Linked DNA regions of Homo sapiens: regions 1, 2 and 4 are each linked to region 3. Evidence: promoter capture Hi-C in 16 types of primary human blood cells and fetal thymus (Javierre and others, 2016). All regions are on one chromosome and are shown on one strand. Each heading gives the region's core, a stretch centred on a gene start or on the middle of the fragment in contact. The rest is flanking DNA. Distances are from core to core; before and after follow the strand shown.

The links. Contacts are between HindIII fragments. The CHiCAGO score rates a contact against its expected background, and 5 or more counts as called.
Region 1: a contact is called between a fragment that was not itself captured here and the fragment with the promoter of INHBA-AS1 in region 3, in 1 of 17 cell types (monocytes). The highest score is 6.2, in monocytes.
Region 2: a fragment that was not itself captured here is called in contact with the fragment with the promoter of INHBA-AS1 in region 3 in 2 of 17 cell types (monocytes and neutrophils); the score reaches 5.9 in monocytes.
Region 4: a fragment that was not itself captured here is called in contact with the fragment with the promoter of INHBA-AS1 in region 3 in 2 of 17 cell types (monocytes and erythroblasts); the score reaches 5.3 in monocytes.

What each region holds. Positions count from the first base shown.
Region 1 is chr7:40,582,325-40,587,970 of GRCh38, reverse strand. The region is part of intron 12 of SUGCT (succinyl-CoA:glutarate-CoA transferase); the gene reads right to left. The region is part of intron 3 of LOC105375244 (a long non-coding RNA gene); the gene reads left to right. Among named protein-coding and RNA genes, the nearest start is that of SUGCT-AS1, 38 kb to the right of the region's middle. The HindIII fragment of the contact is 1,386 bases long and covers 1,162-2,547 here.
Region 2 is chr7:40,269,526-40,274,938 of GRCh38, reverse strand. It overlaps SUGCT (succinyl-CoA:glutarate-CoA transferase), which reads right to left. Exons shown (of 14, transcript NM_001193313.2): 8 at 283-426. All of the region lies in intron 2 of LOC105375245 (a long non-coding RNA gene), which reads left to right. Among named protein-coding and RNA genes, the nearest start is that of SUGCT, 140 kb to the right of the region's middle. The HindIII fragment of the contact is 5,035 bases long and covers 1,293-5,413 here.
Region 3 is chr7:41,690,753-41,696,058 of GRCh38, reverse strand. INHBA-AS1 (INHBA antisense RNA 1) reads right to left here and starts at 2,140. Exons shown (of 4, transcript NR_027118.2): 1 at 1,971-2,140. The region is part of intron 2 of INHBA (inhibin subunit beta A); the gene reads left to right. The HindIII fragment of the contact is 8,944 bases long and covers 1-5,306 here.
Region 4 is chr7:40,600,992-40,607,119 of GRCh38, reverse strand. All of the region lies in intron 12 of SUGCT (succinyl-CoA:glutarate-CoA transferase), which reads right to left. Among named protein-coding and RNA genes, the nearest start is that of SUGCT-AS1, 57 kb to the right of the region's middle. The HindIII fragment of the contact is 3,105 bases long and covers 2,373-5,477 here.

The sequences.
Region 1 (5,646 bases), core at 605-3,104, 1.1 Mb after region 3:
TGATTGCACCACTGCACTCCAGTTTAGGCGGCAGAGTGAGACTCTGTCTGGAAAAAAAAAAAAAAAACAGAAAGAAAGAAGAAAAAGAAATATAAAAGGAGGATATAAATATATCTGTTTAAAAGATATCCATTTTACTGTTGTCTCATACAAGTGATTTATATAAGTGAAATATGAGTGAAAATGAAAATTCCATTATGTATTGAAAAATTTTAAAGCAAGCTTTAAAAGGATTGATGATTTCATATGGTAGCTATTTTCATTTAAACACAATAAAAGGAAAATGGGATAAGTCATATGACATCTTACCAATCATGTTAATTAAAACATCACTTCCTCTTTCACCTCCAACTGCTTTGCCATGGCAATGACAAATAAACACTAAATTGAATAAACATTTAATGTGTCAACTCATGTTAAATGCAAATTTAACTGCTTTAGGTACACACACACATCACTTTTATGAATTTTTAATTTCTACATCATTTTTCTATTATATGTGTTGTATATATTTATATATCTATCATAAATATGAAGACATGTTTAGACACAAGAATTTTAGAATTATTTATTTTTCAAAATAGCCTGGTTACAATAACTTAACATATTGAGAAAATAAACTTGGATCTACTTGTAAGTCTGTCTTTGTTTATCATTCAACTTTACTGATGTGCAATTTATATACAGTAAAATTCACCCCTTTTTGTTCACAGTTCTCTGAGTTTTGACAAATGTATAGTCATGTAACCACTACTACCATCAAGATACACACTATTTTCATCATGTCCCCCAAAAAATCTGTTGTGTCTCTTTATAGTTAATCCCTGCCTTTCACTGCCAGCTCCTGGCAACTCCTGAGCCTGTTTTCTGTCTCTATAATTTTGCCATTTCTAGAACGTCATACAAATGGAATATACAGTATATAGCTCTTCACCTCTGGCTTCTTTCACTTAGCATAATACATTTGTGATTCATCCATGTTGTTACATATATCTGTAGTTCTGTTACTTTTCAAATTTGTAAGTGGTATTCCATTGATTGGATGTATTCCATTATTTGTTTACTCATTTACCAGTTAAAAGACATTTAGGCTATTTCCTACTTGTAAGTCTTTCTAAACATGGCAGATCATAAGGCAGCACAGTATTGTGGTTAAAAGCTTAGGTTTTTGAGCTAGACAGATATGAGTTCCAATCTCAGGTCCAATATCAACTTGTACCTTTGAGCAAATTACTTATATTCTTCGAGTTAGAGTATTGTTGTGAAGATTAAACTAGTATGTGGCCTGTAAATTGGTAAGTGTCTGCTGTTATTATTACTACTGTCCCTAGTGCTCAAACTCTGCTCTACTTCCAGTCTTGAAACTAATCCCAAATTTAACACTGTCAATCACCTCAGAGCTTTTACTATATTCCTTACTTAAAACACCTCACCCCTTCTCTCTGCTTCCCTTCTGCAAGACCCAAGTTCCTCTTCCTCCAGGAGGACTTCTCTAACTCACAGTTCACATTTAGATTGCCATTCTGCACATTCTTAGAGCATGCATCATCCAGTCTGGCAGCCACTACTTACATGTGGCTTTATACATTTAAATTAATTACAGTTAAATAAAATTTAAATCCAGTTCCTCAGTCACAGAAGCCACACTTCAAGTGCTCAAGCAAAACGGCTAGTGGCTGCCATATTGGGCAATGAGGATATAGAATATTTTAATCATCATAGTGATTTCCATTTTAAGTTCTAAGTTAAAAACATTGCCTAACACTTAAAACTATATAATTCTATATAGAACAGGAAAAACTAATAATTAGCAGACATCGACTGAGCTCCTATTCTGTGCAAGACATTCTACCTTAAGCAATGATACAGCATCTTTTAGGGGATCTTGAACCACCTGGACAATTATATTAAAAAAATTTAAAAGAAGAAATGATTACCAAGGTCTGGCAGGTAAAAGAAAAAAAATAATAAGTCATTGAAATTTAGAAGTTGGCCAGGCACAGTGGCTCTCACCTGTAACCCTAGCACATTGGAGGCCAAGACAGATGGATTGCTTGAGCCCAGGAGTTCAAGACCAGCCTGGGCAACGTGACAAAACCCTCATCTCTACAAAAAATACAAAAATCAGCCAGGTGTGGTGGTGCACACCTGTAATCCCAGGTACTTGAGAGGCTGAGGTAAGAGAATCACCAGAACCTGGGAGGTCGGGACCACAGTGAGATATAATCACACCAATACACTCTAGCCGGGGTGCCAGAGTGAGATCCCGTCTCAAAAAACAAAACAAAAAAGTTTAGAGGCATGTGTGGTGGCTCACGCCTGAAATCCCAACACTTTAGGAGGCCAAGTGGGGTAAGATGGGTTGAGCCTAAGAGTTCAACACCAGCCAGGGAAACATATCAAGATCTCGCCTCTACAAAAAATAAAGTAATTGTCAGGGAGGCTGAAGCAGGAGGATCCACTTTGTCAAAAGATCTACAGAATCACAAAACGATGTTCTTCCTAGATTTGTCTCAAGCTAAAGGTGTCTCAAGGAAAAAGTAAGCTTTTAAAGTCCAAACCTTGAATGAGAAAATAATTGTGTTTTCAGAGAAGAAGGCAAAACAAAGACGACAACAACGAAACCTGACTGCTGGAAGACTCATTTCAGAATATACCTTAAAAAGCCACTATATGTCTCATGAATCAATCCAGATACTATATCACCCACCCCTCTGGCACAAGGTTATGACTCACTGTCTGAAACCACAATGCTTATAGAATCCTCAAACGTTCAAGGATAACTACATTTGGTTCAAGTCAGCAATAGAAAGGGAGCTCATTAAGAATTCCCCATTTTCCCCACTACAGTCCCTTACCATTAGAATCCACCTACAACTGCCAGAGCTGATGGGATCATTCCAATTTCATCTTCTCAAGGAGGATTCTGAGAACTATTGAAGGGTGAGTTTAAAGGTGAATCATCAAAGCCAGTTTAAATGTTTTGAAAAGATTAAGGCATGAAATTATCATTTACAATGCACTTGCCTTAGAAGATCCTGGTTTTCTACTTTTCCATTTACACAAGAATGTCAGGAGATCCTCCTGAGAGGAAGCAGAATGTTAAGATACCCTGGGAAGTCAGAGTCATTACTATCACTCCCAAGGCAGCTATAATGGCAGGAGAAAAGTATCCAGTGTAAATAGTTCGCCACAGTGGAGCCTTATGTTACTGTATATACAACATGGGATTTGGAACAATATCCATATGCCAATCCCAGCTCTATCACCATCTAGCTCTATCACCTCATTTAATTCCTTAGTTTCTCCTGTCATCAGTTTATTCATCTGTAAACTGGGGTAACACTGTCCTTAATTACTTTGATGGAGTGTTGTGATGGTCAAATGAGATAATGGCTGGGAAAACACTTTGCAATCTGTAGATCACTATGCACATGGGAACTATTATCTGGTCTTTTCCCCTAAAACACTGCTCCTTGGAGTTCACTTAGCCTGGGATTTTCCAACTTCACTTCTAAAAGAACATTTTTGGAGCTACTCAAATGAAGACTTAGACAAAATATGAGTATCTGTTTTCTGCTTTTTTTCTGATCCAAGGAACTTTCTTCCTTTCACAGATTTAGCTCTTTATGTCATTAACTAAATTTAAATCATGCCTAAAGACTTACTTGTTTGGCAGCACAGTTTCATATCCTGTTTGGTTTGATTTTTAAAATTCTTTTGTAAAGCACTCCAAGATGTTTGCATGAAGATCACTCAACAAATGGAAGCCTCTCTCGAATAATACACACACAAGGACACACCCACATCAATGAGAAGAAACATAATACAGACTTTTGTTAACTTGATAAAACAAGTGCTCAAAAAACAATTCCTAAAATTACATTCGACGCCACACTGTATGACCTTTTCTTGACTGAGAGAGCCTTAACCCTGAACTGACTTGGAAAGCTAAGGTAATCTGGTAGAATTCAACTCCACCAACTTATATAGAGAGATGTAAGTGTATGCTTCAACATAGACACAATATTTTCCATGAAGCAGGCATCCTGGCAAGTAAAAATTCCCTCGTGTTTCAGCATGTATCGAGAGACTAACCATCAGATCCTGAACTGGGTTACATAAGCACAATACCCTTATTGTTAGCAGCTGTGTATTGGTCAGCATTGCACAACTGACCAGGTGCATGGCAGGATGGAGTTTTGTCTTTATCCAAAGATTCAGAGTAGATGGGCTCAGGACTTGCTCTATGATGGCAATATATTAATTCCAAGCCATCAGGATTATTATAACCCATAAGATACTTTGCCAATTTATGCATATGTGGTAAAAATTAAGGCATGTAGTAGATGCCAAAAGAGCCATTGGTTTAATGTGGAAACCTTCTTTTCAATTCTGAATGTTTAAGAATTCATTTTAAATGTAATTGTCTGGATGTGAAGGTAAAATAATTGACTCAATGACACTAAATATCATCATACAATTCCAGGGAAGACATATTTAAACTACCAACGGAAAGGATATGTGATTTTCAATGATCACTTTAGGATAAAGGTATAACACTAAAAGTATTCATTAGAAAAGCCAAGGAAAGATCAATCCATACAGGAAAGAAGAGTTTCTAAAATTGAAAAAAAAAATTGAAAAATCTATCTCCCTCTATACTCAAGAAAAAACTTCAATCACTTGAAATTAACAATGAAGATTCTGACTTTTATATTGCCTTATGACAGGATTTCAAAGGCTGTTTTCTCACCTTTGCTCTTTACTTGAGTTTAAATACTTTAAAGTATATTTTCCTTTACGGATGTACCACCCCATTCAATTCATTTGTTGATTTCAAAATGAAATCAACTAGCTTCCAATACCAGCTAGTTGTTATTTAAGGGTACTGTGTTGCAAGGCAAATTATTGAGCTGCTAGTTTTTGTGTTCTGTATTTTCACAGTCAGTTTTTGCTATTACGCTGATTTAATTTTTAAGAAATGTTTACTTATACATAAAACACAACTGATCCAAAATTGCTTATGAAAATAAATGACAATATTTAGGATATACTAATAATACCAGCATTACTATTATAGAAAATGCCCTGTATTGACATTATTAAACCACTTTTCTAAACTTTTTGGATACAGAGCTAATATATACTGACTATGTGCTCTGTGACGGCCATGGAGTTAAGGGCCCACCCAATGAGGAAGCTACGAAGAGTTTCCTTAATGTATAGATGAGGAAGTTGAAGCAAAGTCATTAGAGAAAGCTGAAGTTATCGACGCCAGAGCACTTGCTCTGCACCAGCAACCTAATGATGAGGATGTTTGAAGCTGCAATTAACAGAGGATGAGGAGGACTTCTGCTCCAGCATACGAAGAAAGGAACTCCATTTCCAAGTTTGGGCCACAAGCTTACCTTCAGTACAGGTAAAAATAGTGTCTACAAATAGAAGATTATCAAATACCCAAATTATGAATTATGTTTATGGGACTTTTATTAATGAAAAATATTCAACTCAAGACCCTGTGCCTCAATTATAATAGTGTAGTGGCAAAATATTGACTCATTTCAGTTCTGCCTGTGAAATAATAATGGAATTCAAATATCTCATTGTTGAGAGACACTAAAACCAGTACACAATTTGTTAATA
Region 2 (5,413 bases), core at 2,561-5,060, 1.4 Mb after region 3:
CCCCAGCTACTCAGGAGGCTGAGGCAGAAGAATTGCTTGAACCCAGGAGGTGGAGGTTGCAGTGAGCCAAGATCACGCCATTGCACTCCAGCCTGGGCAACAAGAGCAAAATTCCATCTCAAAAAAGAAAAGAAACAAGTACATCAAAATGAAACAGTTTTCAGTGTTGTTGTGTTGGTTTTTGTATTGTTTTTGTACATGTGACCATAGAATTTGATCTGAAAAGGTATAACCCAGACACAGTTTTTATAACATTATCTGAAATGTTAGTTGGATTGTTACCTGGGATGACAGTAGGTTACAATCAATGAACAGTCCTTTCCCAGTTTTGTATTTTTGTATCAATCCAGCCATAATAGCTCCATATGCATACAGGCCAGTGGCAAGATCAGTCATAGCTACTCCTGGGCGAACTGGATCTCCATTCTGATTTGAAGGTTGGGTTGAGAAAGAAGAAATAATTAAACATTAAAAGAATCATATGATTTCTCAAATCTTCTAATGTGAAATAGAAAAAAGAATTGTCTATTAACTGTGCAGACACATACACACAAGAAAGTTAATAAAATAAATTGCTATTGTGAATATCTGTTGGTAATAGGAAAATATTTATATTTACTATATACTTCTCAGTGCATTTCTCTCCCCAATGCCTACTAACCAAACTAAAAATAAAAGATTTTTTAGAAACCGATCTGATGTTTCAATGTTTTAAATTCCTTCTTGATATATTTTATCTTGTTTATGCTAAAAAAATTAATTGAATTTAAATGAGTTAATTTGTTGGGGAGAAAGAGTTAAAGCAGTGTTTTTCTCCTATTGGGTGAGAGGCTCTCTCACAAAAAAAAAAAAAAAAAAAAAAAAAGAAGGTAAAAAATCTGGTCAAACCTCCTTGTAAGCACACCAATAGCTGGCAAAAATACTAACAGTGTTTGCTTAATAATTTAAAAAAAGACTATTTACCCATAAAAAGCTGTTAGCAGACTGCCCCTGAATTAGGATTACTATGATAAACAAACTGAGAATCTCAAGATTTATGGGACATGGAGCACTGGGCACAGGGCATGAGCTTTGCAACTATCTGGGTATAAAACGGAGATGTTTCACAGCCTGTAACACTCCCTGCTAATAACTCATATATTTCATTAAGGACCTCATCTACTGCTTTGGGCCACAGAGTTTTGTCTATTGCAGTAAGAAAGGATCCGGGGGCCTCTCTCAATGTCCCAGACATGTCTCTGCTTTTTCTGAGCCTTTTGATTGCTTGTATTCTTGAAATTATAAGGAAAGCTTAATATTGATTAACATCTCCACTTCATGTCAGTCTGATTTGACAATCCAATCCTTGGCCCATATGTAAAGATGTTAGAACAGTACTTGACACAAAATAAAAATCACCTATCAAAATTATCAACATTGTTATTAGTCATTGATATATCAGATAGTTTCTACTTGTCACTACCTTTAATTCTGCTAAGCCTTAAATCGCACAGAATACCTAAAAAAACTCACATTTCATACTTCATCTGGCTGATGCAGTGATTCAATTACCTCCTTATTAAGTCTAGCTTCTGTTGAATCATTTTCAGAAGTTAATTTGTCCTTTTTTTGTAGCCCATCATAAACCATGTTAATTGTTTTGCAAAAGTACTGTTTTGCAAAATAATGTTTAAAGCAAGTAACTGAGACGGTATAGTAGCTAAACTTATTTTTCCCTGCTTTTCAATACAATTTCAAGGACGATATTGCCATGAAACTTGGAAATGTCTGGCAGTTTACTATTATTATTGTCAAAAGTTGTAATGTAATGCCTTAAATCAATACACTTAAAATTAAATTTGTCATTAGAATTTAAAATTATTTAATGTCTTAAAAGTGAGAGACAAGTTCAAAGTTACATTGACCCTTGAACAACAAAGTTCTGAACTGCATGGATCCACTTATACGTGGAATTTTTTTTCAATAAAAGTTACACTAAAGGCTGGGCACGGTGGCTCACACCTGTAATCTCAGCACTTTGGGAGGTCAAGGCGAGTAGATCACCTGAAGTCAGGAGTTCAAGACCAGCCTGGCCAACATGGTGAAACCCCGTCTCTACTGAAAATACAAAAATTAGCCAGGTGTGGTGGCACATATATGTAATCCCGGCTACTCAGGAGACTGAGGCAGGAGAACTGCTTGAACCCGGGAGGCGGAGGCTGCAGTGAGCTGAGATCGTGCCACTGCACTCCAGCATGGGTAACAGAGCAAGACTCCATCTCAAAAAAAAAAAAATAATAATAATAATAATAATAATACCATATGATCCAGCAATTCCACAGCTGGGTAGATATCCAAGAAAGAAGAAAATCAATCACGAAGAGATATGTGCACTCCCATGGTTACTGCAGCACTATTGACAACAGCGGAAATATGGAATAAACCCAAGTGTCCATCAAAGGATGAATGGATAAAGAAAATGTGTTCACGCACAGTGGCTCATGCCTATAAATCCCAACACTTTGGAGGCCAAGCAGGAGGATCACTTGAGGCCACGAGTTCAAGAACAGCCTGGGTGACAGAGTAAGACCCTGTCTCTACCAAAAAATACAAAAATTAGCCGGGCATGGTGGCACACACCCCTAGTACCAGCTACTTGGGAGTCTGAGGTGCAAAGATCACTTGAGTGCAGGAGTTCCATCCAGGCTGGAATGAGCTATGATCATGCCACTGCACTCCAATCTAGGCAAAAGACTGAGACCCTGTATATATATATATATATATATATATATATATATATATATATATATATATATATGTCACATTGCAGTTGTTTTTGAAACATCCATATATATATATATATAGAGAGAGAGAGAGAGAGAGAGAGAGAGCGAGACAGAGAGAGAGGAATATTATTCAGCCATAAAAAATTAGCTGGGCAAAGAATAAATTCCTGTCATTTGCAACAATATGGATGTCACTGGAGGACATTATGTTACATGAAAGAAGCCAAGCACAGAAAGACAAATATCACATATTCTGACTCAGATGTGGAAGCTAACAAAGTAGATCTCATGAAGATAGAGAGCAGACTGCTGGTTACCAGAGGCTGGGAAGGGTAGGGGGAGGAGAGATGAAGAGAGGTTGATTAGTGGGTACAAACATACGCTTAGATGGAAGAAATAAGAATTGTTGTTCAGTAGATCAGTACGGTGACTATAGCTAACATCAAAAGGCTGTACATTTCAAAATAGTTAGCAGGGAATAATTGGAATGTTCCTAGAACAGAGAAATGGTAAATATTTAAGGTGATGATGGGTATATCAACAGCCCTGATCTGATTATATTAATGTATGGAATGATCACATGAACCCTGAAAACATGTACACCTATTATGTATCGATTTTTAAAAAGCTAAAAAAAAATGAAACTTCTCAACCTAATAAAGGGCATCTATTAAAAATCATAACCCAGATCACACTTAAAAGTAAAGAACTGAATGTTTTCCCCTAAAATGAAGAACAAGACAAGAGGCCAGGCACGAAGGCTCATTCCTATAATCCCACACTTTGGGAGACTGAAGGGAGGGCCACTTAAGCTCAGGAGTTGGAGCCCAGACTGCACAACATAGTGAGACCCCCGCCTATATATTTTACAAAAGAAAAAAAATTTAACTAATTATTTTTTAAAAGAATGAGACAAGGATGTCCACTCTAACCACTTCAATTCAACATTACACTGGAGGTTTTAGCCAGTGCAGTTAGGGTACAAAAAGAAATAAAATGAATTTAGGTTGCAAAGAAAGAAGTAAAACTATCTCAATTTGCAGATGACCCAGTCTTATATATCAAAAGTCCTAAGGAATCCACTAAAAAACTCTTAGAACTAGTAATCGAGTTAAGCAAGATTGCAAGATAAAAGCCAATATACAAACATCAGTTGTATTCTACACACTAGCAATAAACAAACAAAAAATGAAATAAAGAAAGTAATTCAATTTATAATAGGATAAAAAAGAATAAAATACTTAGAAATAAATTTAACAAAAGAAGTACAAACTTATACTCTTAAAATAATAAAATATTGTTGAAAGAAATTAAGACAAAAATAAACCAAAAGACATCTCACAGTCATGGAGCAGAAGACTTAATATTGTTAATATGGCAATGCTTCCCACACTCCTCTGCATATTCAAGGCAATTCTACCTACCAAAATCCTAGATACCTTTTTTGCAGAAATAAAATCTGATCCTAAAAATTCATATGGAAATACCATAAACAAAGAATAACCAATCTAGAAAAAGACAAAGTTAGAGGACTCACAAATTCTGATTTCAAAACTTACTACAAAGCTACTGTAATAAAGGCAGCATGGTACTGGTGGAAGGCAGACATATAAACAATAAAAATTCTCACATTTACATCCAATTACTTTTTGACAAATATGCCAACACAATTCAATTGGAAGAGTCTTTACAAAAAATGGTGAAAATAATAAAGTTGGATCCCCTCCTTGCAGTACATACAAAAATTGACTCTAAATGGACCAAAAATCTAAACTTAAGAGCTACAACTATATAACAAAAGAAAATATAGGAGTAAATCTTTATGATATTGGATTTGGCAATAATTTCTTTGATATGACATCAAAAGCACTAGCAACAAAAGAAAAAATAAATTGGACATAATTGAAATTAAAAATATGTGTTTCAAAGGACACCATCAAGAAAGTGAAAGGACAACCCAAAGAATAAGAGAAAGTTTAGTAAATCATGTACTTGATAAGAAATTTGTACAGAATTTCTTTTTTTTTTTTTTTTTTTTGAGAAAGGGTCTTGCTCCATCACCCAGGCTGAAATCCAATGGTGTAATCTCGGCTCACTGCAACCTCCACCTCCTGGGTTCATGCAATTCTCTTATCTCAGCCTCCCGTGTAGCTGGGACCACAGGCGCACACCACCATGCCCAGCTAATTTTTGTATTTTTGTAGAGACAGGGTCTCCCCACGTTGCCCAGGCTGGTCTTGAACTCCTGGGCTCAAGCAATCCACTGGCCTGGGCCTCCCAAAGTGCTGGGATTAAAGGCATGAGCGATCACACCCAGCCCAGAATTTTTAAAGAACACTTACAACGCAAAAATAACAAGAAAAATGACCTAATTTAAATATGGGCAAAAGATCTCAATAGACATTTCTCCAAAGAAAATATACAAATGGTCATTAAACACACGTAAAGATGCTTAATATCATTAGCCATCAGAGAAATGCAAATGAAAACCACAGTGAGTCTACAACTCAACAATAAAAAGACAAATAATCCCATTTTTTAAAAATGGGTAGGTCAGGAGCAGTGGCTCATACCTGTGATCCCAGCACTTTGGGAGGCTGAAGCCGGAGGACTCCTTGAGCTCAGGAGTTTGAAACAAGCCTAGGCAA
Region 3 (5,306 bases), core at 891-3,390:
AAATGGTGGGAAAGATGGGAAAAGAGATTAATAGTGGTCTGCGGCCTGTGCAGTGGATGGACTGGGCTGGGGGTGGTGGAGATGCCAGGGTGGAAAGTCCGTTGTAATATTTAAAGAACTGCAGTAATACCTTCCCAGGCACTTTTCTTGAAAACACATATTTGTCTTGGCCCCTCTTCTGCTAAAAAATACTTGCACGTGATCTCCTAGCTGTAGTTCTGAATTCTTCGTACTCGACTGGTTCCTAAGTCCAAAATGAGAAGTGCCAAAGTTCTCAGGAACTTTGGAAGAAGTCTCTGAAATTTTGTGGGTTAAACCTTAAGAATTTTTGCTACTTGTAGGAACCTAAAACCCCTTTCTCCCAAAATATTTAACCTTTTTCATCACCACTTTAATGGAAGAGGCATGGATGATGGACGTTTGTGCCAGGGCATTTATAAATCAATAATGGACCCTAAGGAGGGAAATTAAAGCTAAAAAATTAATCAAGATAATTTATGGCCAAACCTATAGTTCTACTGCAGGAAAGATCCTCTACTGTAGGTCAAAGGAGGAATAACCTTAAGACCTCACTTGCTGCTTTCTGCAGAAACCCCTGGAAGCAGTCCAAATGCAAAGTTAGGGCTTCAGAGAATGCACCCTGTAAATGGTAGTTGTGTATACCCTTACCATTGACTATACCATATCTAGGCACAGTGAAATCTTGATGAAGAATGGAAAATTAAAGGAACAGACGCTTTTTACAGGGAGGCTTCCCCCAGCCCCCATCCCATGGTAAGTTTAAATGTGTTCTATAAACAACGAGGCTTTCCACATTCACATTAGAGACATAACTATTGCCCATATGTAAAAGAGCAACATATTTTAAGCAGGACCCTGGTGAGGAAAACAAAACCAAATCGAAACACTGCATGTGTGTGTTGCTTATTTAACTGAAAATGTTCATAGACCCACAAATCTGAGATGCTGGACTTTTGGATGAGTCCAGCATTTTGCATCTTAGTGTAGGGGGAGGGAACAACAAGGGGCTTAGTTGCTTAACCCTTGCCATGCCTTCATGATTGACTTATTCAAAACATTTTTAAAATTCTGAAAGCAAAGGAAAATGTGCTGCAAACACCCTTCCAGCTATCTTTCCTTCCAGCTTACACAGTCTCTCCTCTGTCCAATCCTTCCCACCCAGCAGCATTTCAGAGGTATTCCCTGTGAGGTACAAAATTTCTCTTTGCCCATTTTTCTGCACCTCTTTTTCTCTCTCTTTGGTATGTGTCCACCAAGCTCATAGAGGTTTAAGTGATGAAATATTATCACCCACATGGGTTTGCGTGGGACTTTCTTAGTGAATTACTCAGGCAGAGCAGGCTGTGATACAGCCTTGCTCACAAGCCTCGGGAGGGAAAAAATAGCACAGAGGATGAAAAGAATATTATTAGAGAGCAGGTAATGAAAGGTTCGCAAAGCAACCAGCTATATCTGGTTAGCTAGGTAATAGTGCAGGAACCTAGGTCGCACCTGTACAAACTAATGCAGAACCTGCTCACGGCGCACTATGGGAAGACATTCATTTCAAGAGTTTACAGCATGAGATATTTGAGTAAAACCTGAAACTGATTAGAAATTGATCCTGAACATCCCAGCCTTAGTCAACCTTCCCTTTTTCAAATTGTTATGCATGGAGATTGGAGGATTGGGGCATCTTGAAAGTGTCACTGCAGTATAGCAATCTCTCTCAGGTAATATAGAGATAAAGGGAATATAATAAATTGACCTGTTATTTATTATCTTTTTCATACCTAGGACATTCCGAGGCTTAATATATTTCTGAAGCCTACAGCCCTGATAAACATCAATCCCACGTCAGTTTCCAGCAGTCTCATCTCCCCACACCCTTCTGCAATGAAAGCTAATGTAAAAGAAAGAAATATGCACTGCTTAATAAGTCAGAATACAATAGAACTTGTAAAATGTACCTGCATATAAGGTAGACATTAGGAAGACTTGAATCTCTCTCTTCCCCCTGTTCTCCTGAGCATTATGGCAACAGCATTTTCATGAAATTAGATCTGTTTTATATTTTTTCCTGATAAAATATCATGCAATATACAAATAGCAGTTCCAGAAATGGACACCAGGAGAAGGAGGCGACAGGCATGTCAATTAGTAGGGGGAAAATCCAAATGTCAGAAATATGGGGGAGAGAGAAAGCACGCAGGCAGTGGATGCAAATACAGGGAACAGAGTCTTTCAATTCAGATAATTAAACGGATGCATAAATCAGCACCCTTGCCTCTCTACAATACGCAGGCGATGCCATGCAGTTAATTATCAGCCAAGACCAGCATGAAAGTCATTTTATGATGACTCTCTGATCCTAATATAACAGCACCTGACAGATTGAGCCCCCTCTAATGAGTACTCTCTTTGTACAATCCTCTCTCAGGAACACTAAATCATTTGCTTCCAAGTACAGCTGCCTGTGAAGAAGGGGTGGGGCTAGATCATGCATCAGAAACCTGCTCTTGTGAAATCAGGGGCTGTCCTGTAGGCTGTGTGACTGGAAGCCAGCAGCCTCAGCCTCTCTGGCCCTAAAAAAGCAATTTGCACACGGCTGTCCCTAATTCTAGTCAGCCAAGTAACCCTCCCTCGGCACCCCCACCTAAACATCTGTAGTCAGCCTTGGGTGTTATTCATGGAAAGTCCACTGCATGCGGGTCAGCACTGCTGTCCATCGGCTTCACCCTGACCCCTTCTGGCAGGTGTGGATGAGAGTAGAGCAGAGCTCATGGGGATGAGTTACCCCAAACCTATTAAGCCTCCCTATCCGGGGCACTAGTCAGACACTCCAGTTTTACACTCTTTCCTAGAAAAACAAAACCCAACCTTGTGCCCTCTGGGTTCTCTAATTTAGCAGCTACTATCTGTCTGTTTTTGGAGTGACACCCTGTGCAGTTTAGGATTTCAGAAGCTGTCCTGCATAGAGGCAGAAGGGAAAACAGCAGGTATCTTGTTAACATTCTCTATGGGGCAAGGCAGATGTGCCCAAGCTGGAGGAAACCTGCACACCCTCCAGGCTAGTTATCCAAGGCTTGGGAGGTTTCCCTCGGCCTTCTCCTAAGGCCTTGGCAGGACCCTGCCACCCTAAAATCAACTGCTGATTGCCTTTTTAGATTTAAATGATTAAGCTCTGCTTATGGGAATCTTCTTCTCTTTTATTTTGTTAAGAAACAAACAACAACAACAAAACCCACACCAATTCTTAGCAAAGGGGAATATCGAATTCAGATTTTGAAAAAATAAGTCATCATGCTTCCTAAAATAAGACAGCTTCTCCCTCTAACTGCTCTCTCTGCTCTGGTATTCTATCTAATCATAAACCCAGCTTTATTATTCATTTCAACTCCTGCCAAAGACATGAGGTCGGAGTCAGAGGAACTCCCCTTACCACCGCCACCATCATCATGGCCAGCATCCTCGTAAGTTTATAGAAAGATGCCAGAGAACCTTTCCTATCCATCTGCAGCCCTGCTTGGCCCTTGCCTCAGTGAATTTACCACTATCATAATCACAGTGTGCAGAGTGTGTTAAATTAAGAACAGAATCCACAGTACGCAATGCACAGAAAAGCCTGCCTTCTGCTGCAGAGAACTTGAAACTGTGCCTAAAATTTATAGTACCGTAAACATCTCAGGGCCTCGAGTGATAAGTATGGCTGGATTTCCGTTAACTATAGAAATCCAGGCAGGGAGATCCTCCCAGGGAGTTGCAAGTTCTAAGATGAACTTCTTGAAGATTGTTCCCAGATTTGTGCATGGGATACATGTACAGCAGACAGTTGTAAGGAGGTCCACGGTCATGGAAAAGAGGATATGTTTCTATATGCCACCAAGTGGGAAAAATGGAAGTGAGGGAAAATATTTGATTAATCAAAAAATTTTAGTTTGGATACCTGCTTTCATAGTAATTGTTGCTGTGTCATTAAACATACAGTTGCTTAGGAAAAGAGAAGGAAATAGGTGACTTTCTAATTTTAGAGTTAGGCTGGAACTGAGTGGTTGCTAAATTCAACTGCCCTGACAATGTGGGGATTTCCTGTCCATTAGCAGCGATTGCTATTTGACATATGTTTCTGGTGCCCATTAATCTGCCCTGTAATGGGTCAGAGGCAAAAATGGGGGATTCAGAGGTACTAGGTGGCTCTCTTAATTTAATAGAACTCAATGCTAAGGACGCCTCTATTTGTTAATAAGTAATCAAGTCATTGGCTACTTTCTGCTAAACACTAGACTATGATAGTGACCTTAGACCCCGGGCATTCTAAACCAGGCTGGCAGGAGGGTGGTGGTGGAGGTGATGTGAGGTAAGCCTCCTAGAGGAACTGTCATCCAAACAATCTGAAAATTGAAACATTATTAAAGGCAGCACTAAGGGTGGTATGTTGGAGTTGGGGCAGGAGCACTTAAGGCAGAAGGAACAGCAGGTGTCACTGCCTGCAGTTGAGAAAGGGGGTGGAATTCTCAAGGCCTTAGACCCCAGAGAACAGGACTGGGCAAGAGCTGACATTCAAGGGAGGAACAGCATGTACAGAGCCCAAAGTCCCAGCCACTTTCTGTTGGATACTGAGCAATAGGAATTCAGTAAAGGACTTTCAAGAAGAAGTGATGTGATCAGATCCACCTGTGGGAAAGATGCCTTTAGCTGCTTCATGGAGAAATGACTGGAGAGGAGGCCTTCCTTAGTGTTGCAGAGGCAAAGTAAAGAAAATGCTGCTGCAGTGACCCAGCAAAGAGGTGATGGCGGAGGAATCAGGCTGTGACAAGGGAAGAAGAGGCTGGCTCAAGTGTGTCTCGACTGCACAGACTTACACAGCGAGGTGGGGCCAGGGGCTGCATTTTTGTCTGAGAATAGTATTTCCTTAGCTTTCTAGAGCTTACAGTGTCTTTTTGTTTATGTTATCTCATTTGACCTTCCTAAACCTGTGAGATAACAGGTCAAATGTCCTTATGTCATTCCCATTTTTATAGAAGATGAAACTGAGGTTGAGCAATTAGTCAACAGACACAGACTCGCAGGCCCTCTTCATTCTAAAGCAAGGGTCCAAAACCTTTTTTCTATAAAGGGCCAGAGAGTAAATAATTTAGGCTTTGTGAGCCAGGCAGTCTGTTGCAGCTACGCAGTCCTTGGTTATTATAGTGCAAAAACAGCCATAGGCAGCATGTACAGAAATGAGCATAACCATGCTCCAACAAAACTTTATTTACAGGCACTAATGTTTAAATTTCAGGTAATTTTCACATGTCACAAAATAT
Region 4 (6,128 bases), core at 2,676-5,175, 1.1 Mb after region 3:
AAAAAAAAAAAAATCCAGAAAAAGCATACAATAAAGCCTTCAGTGTTTCTCAAATTTATTGCACAGATTCCTCACCTGGAAAACAATTTTACAACATGATCTCTACATTCCTCCCTCCTAATTAAAAGGTTAGAATATCAAGCATTTTTCTGATCAAATTATGCATATGAATACATAAAAAGGATGATTCTTCTTCGAAAGCAAAACAAATTAGAACTTTCTGCATTTTCCCTTTCCAAGGCCCACCCAAAAAGGACTCAATCTCTGATGCTCCATCATGTATATAACTTAATCCTTTAACTTAAATAGATCAAGTTCATCTAGAGTTTATTTTTAAGTCATTTCTGATTTAATATGGCTTTTTAAAAGCTTACGTTGGTTGACATTAAATCCTAGATGTTAACGCTGACAGGTTCCATGATAAAGACTTGATCATGTAAGAGTAAAACATTTTTTGAAAAACTTACTTTTTAGTAGGTTTCTTATTAAGACAAAATGTTACCCAAATCCAAATCCTCAACAATGTTTAATGTGGTAAAAGCAGTTAATGAAACTGTCACTTTAATCTCCTAAGTAAAAGGGAAGCAGGAAACAAGGAAAGGCTCCATTTGCCTCTATTCCCCTGTATTCCACACAAAGACGCTTCCTGGATGCTCTAGGATCCCAAATCTCGCCCTTTTGCATTTTCTCTCTCTGAGCTGAAGACCCTGTTTCCATCTGTGTAGTGGGTATCCTCACACGTGGTCGCTTCAGTTTCCATATGCCCAAAGTGAAACTCACGACTGCAGCACCAAACCTTTCTCAGCTCATCCTGTTATCAGTGTCATCCACACTTTCAGTCTTCTTCAATGCTTCCTTCTTTGTCATCCTCCACCTTCAATCAACTTTCTGCCTCTTAGAAAGCTTTCCCGTTAATCCTTTCTCCAGGAGCCCCACTCTCTTTGTCCTTCTTCTTTTGTCTTTTCTGCTCCAACAGAAGGTAGACAGCTTCCTGTTGCTATTTTTGACATTCCTCTACCCTCTATCCATCCACTACCTTCCTGAGAGATGTTTCTAAAATGAAAAGCAGCCCTCACACTCTCCTAGTGACAGTCGTTCAACGACTTGCCTTCTCCGACTGAATACGATGCAATCTGCTCAGCATGCTAGACAAGGCACTGCACAAACTGATTGTAACCTACCACTCTAGCCCACCTCTCACCAAGCTCCACTCCTTGGACTCCAGCCTCTCAAAAGGCCCTGTGAGACACACACACACCATTTCTTCTACCATCTACTATCTGCCACGCCCAAACTTGTCTTACTGGCAAACATACAAGTATCTTTCAAACATACAAATATCTTTTAATACTTACCTCTCACCAGCCTGCAGAGCAGATCCTAACTCCTACCCCTTCATAGTGTTGTTATTCCCATCTCTGTGTTTCCCTCGCAATTAATATCTTCCTTTATTAGTGTGTTTTTTAAGTTCTCCTCTGGACGGAGTTTCTCAAGATTGTAGGTATTCTCTTTTCTCCTCCATTTCTGACTGCTCTCTACAGCCCTACACAATGGCAGGTACATAGTCGGTGCCCATTCATGTCTGTTCAGTGACTGAAAAATAAATGAATGAATCAAATCCAAATAGATTTTAAGGCTTTGATTTTAGAAAGAGCTATGTTAAACATAAGGAAAGCCACACAAATATGCCAAATCTTGTATTCTCCAAAAAAACACGGAATATCTTGAGTGGAAAGAGTGAGTTACTAGGTAATTCTTTGTGTGGGTCCATTTGTGTCTGTGAACATAAAGACGTACACTTTGGTGTATTGTGCCACTGAACTGAATGTCATCAGAGCAAATGTAAAGCCCCATTCCACGATGAAAGGAAACTGGTGGCTCTGAAGTTGATTGGAGTAAAACATAAAGTAAGTTATCATTTGTTTCTTTGACATAAAATTTCCCCAAATAACTCAAGGCTGTATTTCCATGGCCATCGTCTTATGCTGGTAGAGCATCACTCCTGAGAGGAAAATCTGCCCCCGTGTTAGCAAAAGCTTGAAATTCTTTAAGCCAGGCGCTGAGAGGCGGACGCGTGTGCTGCTCTGCCCAGCAGAGGGCACACAGCCCCCAATACCGTGCAACGCCGGCCATCAAAGCGGGCTGGCAGGACTGGGTGAAGTTGTTCAACAAACCCAAGCCTTTGAATCCGGGTCAGCGTGCTGACCTCCTGTCCTTGCCTGCTCCTTGGCATTCTGTTCTGTTCTTCCCACTCACAATGAGGTGTTAGTGAACCTCAAGCTCTCAGGCAAACCCGTTTGGGAGCAAATAGGGAGAGGGCAAAGGTGAGGCTCTTCACTCAGGAGTGTGATGATTTCTTGGAAAAGGAAGCTTTAACTCACTCCTACTTGGCCTTACAGTGACAGAAAGCACCCTAAACTGGCTATAGCCTACATTCTAATTCTTTCTTTCTGTAAGTGAATAAGGGACGATCAAGGTGGGGGTTTTCAATAGGCCCCTGTCCCCAAACTGAATGAAAATGACTCTCTACTCTTACTGATTTGGTTTAAATATCTTAGGCATCGGAAGTGTAACGTTAAGATCACTAGTCTATTAAAAGGCTCAATGGCATAAAGTCCTTCACCTAAATACGTTATTTATACTTAATGAGCTTGTAGAAGAGGAGCGAAAACATGACATCCTCTCACATTCTAAAAACAGATGCTTCTGTTGATCTATGTAAGAGGAAGGGCCAGTGATCTAGAAAGAAAAAATTAAAAATACAAAATAAACCAAGCAGATTCATGTAACATTCAAGGAAACCTACAAGTTCCCACGCTTTTTCTGAGAAAAGCAAGGGACCATCATAGGCCTTGCAGGGAGATTGCTTGTCTGCTCTGTTAATCATGAAACTTGTTAAGAGGGAGGAGATAGCAAGGGCCTCGGGCGAACACTCAGAAAGATGTCACAAAATACTTTTTTTCTTCCTTCAAAATATGCCTCAAGCACAGAAACGAGAAGCCTGCCCGGAATTTTACCCCCACATTGAGGAACCTCCCCCACTCCTATGCAAAGGTCTAGAAGCAGGAGGGAACATGGCTACTGAAAAATGGTGGCCACCTCAGGATGGGCTAAAGAACAAAGTGGGGACTGGGGATAATGAAAGATGAAGGTTGGTGTAACTCACTGTAAATAGCGCTAAGGATATTATCTATATCTTAAACTCACGAGAAGCCACTGAGGAATTTTAAACAGGGGAATGACATGAGCAGATTTGCATGTTGGGAAGATCATTCTAGAAATAGAAAATAGTGGGGCAAGTTTATGCATATCAAACATGAAATGTCAAATTAAATTTCATGCTTACTAATTATGATAGGGCATGGCAAGATCATTAACTTATTTTTGAAAAGCAGGACATACCAAATAAGAAGGGGAATTTTTCTCATTTCTAGTCCACTTGACTTACACCCTAAACCCAGGGCCTCATGCCTTGAACAATGCTAAGGGCTACTATTTATGCAGACCATAAGGCTGAGAACCATCTAAATCCAGAATAAAATCTCAAGGGATTTGAGATTTTATCAGTACTATCCTACTTTCAAATCATAAAAGTATTATTCATTATACAGGAACTTAATTACACAAAAAAACTTATGGAACAGCTACTATATTTAATCCATTGTACTAGACTCTTTTGGGAACTCTGAGATCAATAAAATGTAATCTTTGTCTTTAGAAATTCAGAGACTACTTCAAATCAAGTAGAGGAAATCACTTCTTTTTTATTGGGTTTATGGGTAACCTTGGGCACACAAGAATACCAAAGAAAGCACTTTCGCTATCATTATGCATTTGTCATACATATTCCTATGTATCTAAACCCTTTTAGTCTCTTAACATCCAATTATTCAAGTGTAAATATAGAGTCTGAACTTTGGAAAATCAAATTTAAATCAACATATTTTCTATACTCTCAGGTTGCATTTCTTTGAAAAATAGAGGTTACATATTCTTAAAAACACATGAGCACCAACTAGAGGATAACTGTAAGTGAAGAATATATTTAATTCATCCTAGAATTTAACTTCCCTAGAAGTTCACATGAGAGTTCTGTTCCCCTCAGTCCTATTTATGCTCAGAATTACTATGCCAGCTCCTTGTTCCAACATCCCATCACTACTGCAGTTCTGAAAAGCAGCCACCCAAGACTGTTTGGGAAATTTCTACCATTTCTAGAAGAAAGTGAGAATATCCTAAGAGTGTCATCCTGTTGGAAAATCCTACCACTACTATGAATAATGTCTAGGATGGGATTGCTAATCCCATGGAAGGGAGAGATAGTACATACACCTAGAAATGATTAGAATGGATGACAAAAAGAACAGAAGATCCCAGAAGGGAAGGAAACAGTTCCAGTAGGTTTTCATGAGGACACTATGACTTCCTACTGTTGCAAGCCAAAAGAGTGAGGGTCATGATCAGCTCTGTATACCACTGGAGGCTATATGAGTAAACAGCAAACTGTTCTCATGAAAGCAGGATGTTGGCAAACTGACAAACTGAGTCTGTGGTCCAGAAGGAATACTGAGGGCAGTCACAACCCAGGCACAAGTGTTTCTTGTGAATAGACACATCTGAAGCCTGTTAGCAATAATGTGAACCTGTGATCAGTCAAGCAGCTGACCAGTCGTTACCTCCTCCTCCCTGCTCTTTCTACCCAATAAATACGAAGGGCTGTAAAGGCTCAGGGCTGCTGTGTTTGCTCACCAGAAGCAGGGAGCCCTCTTCTTCCCCCCGACAGATCCCTTCATTAAAACAGTTTCTTTTAAGTTTTCATTTCTGGGTTCATCCCCCTTCATTCAGTCCCGTGGTAACCATGGCAAAGCACAGCATCCTACTGCCTCAGTAACTCAGGTTTGGGGGTTGGTTGGTTGGTTTTTCCCATGGCTTAAGTATATAACCATGGTTTGAGGGTTGACCTATAATCTGATCCTACATTACAGCAGACACAATTGAGAGAGGAAACAAATCTATTTCACTCAACAGAGTTGGGCTGAGATTACTTAAAGTGAAACCATGTTTAAAATTCTAAGTATTGTTATATGAAGAGGTCTCCAAGGTAAAAACTTGAAAGAGTATGTCTATAAAAGTCCAAAGAAACTATTTCTAAATGAAAATGTTGAGTGCTTTAAAATGCGAACTCTCAGGCAAAGGGCAATCCTTTTTTAGATACACTTTGAATTTGGCAATTTGAAGGGTTAGATCTTATTTGAAGGGTTAGATCTTAGAAAAAGGGTGTCCAATCTTTTGGCTTCCCTGGGCTACATTTGAAGAAGTATCTTGGGCCACACATAAAATACACTAACACTAAAGATAGCTGATGAGAAAAAAAAAAAAAAGTCCTCACATTTTAAGAAAGTTTACAAATTTGTGTTGGGCCACATTCAGAGCCATCTAGGCTGCGAACTGTCTGCAGGCCGCATGTTGGACAAGCTTGTCTTAGAGGCTTAGGCTTTCTCATGCAGAGCTGCTGTTGTCAAATACTAGAAGACAAAGCGTAAGGTTCCTGTGATACTCCACATCATGGAATTTCATGGTAATGAACCACAGCATAAAGCCAGGGTACTTTGTGGTTCATGTAAGTATTTCCACAACAGACTCAAAACCTTCAGAAAATGTTTCTAAGCAGTATTATTTTATCACTCAGAAATCCATTACATGAGTACCTCAAAGATTTGTGGCAAGGACATGTGTTCTTGACGGTTACAGTCCACAGGGGAACCTGGTGTCTGCAGATCCCAGATCTCTCCCTTTGCCAATCAAATGAGCTAGGAACTTCAGGTCAATACAAGACAAAAGGTAAACTAGAATAACAAGGAGTTTTTAGATTGTACACCCCAATGCCAAACTCTACAGATTCCCACCTGGAAGCTATTTCCTAAGACATCCAAATAGCAAATACTGAACTATTTGCTACTAATACATCTGGCCATTCAAAGGGTCCTGCACATAGATAAACTAAAGAAATTTTGTTTGCCTACTACCATAAGCAGTTTTGAACTTCATATAAATATGGGACTTAAAAAATATCCTTTTCTCCTCTTTCTTTCTAGAACTGGCTTCAGATTTATAGTATTCCATTTATG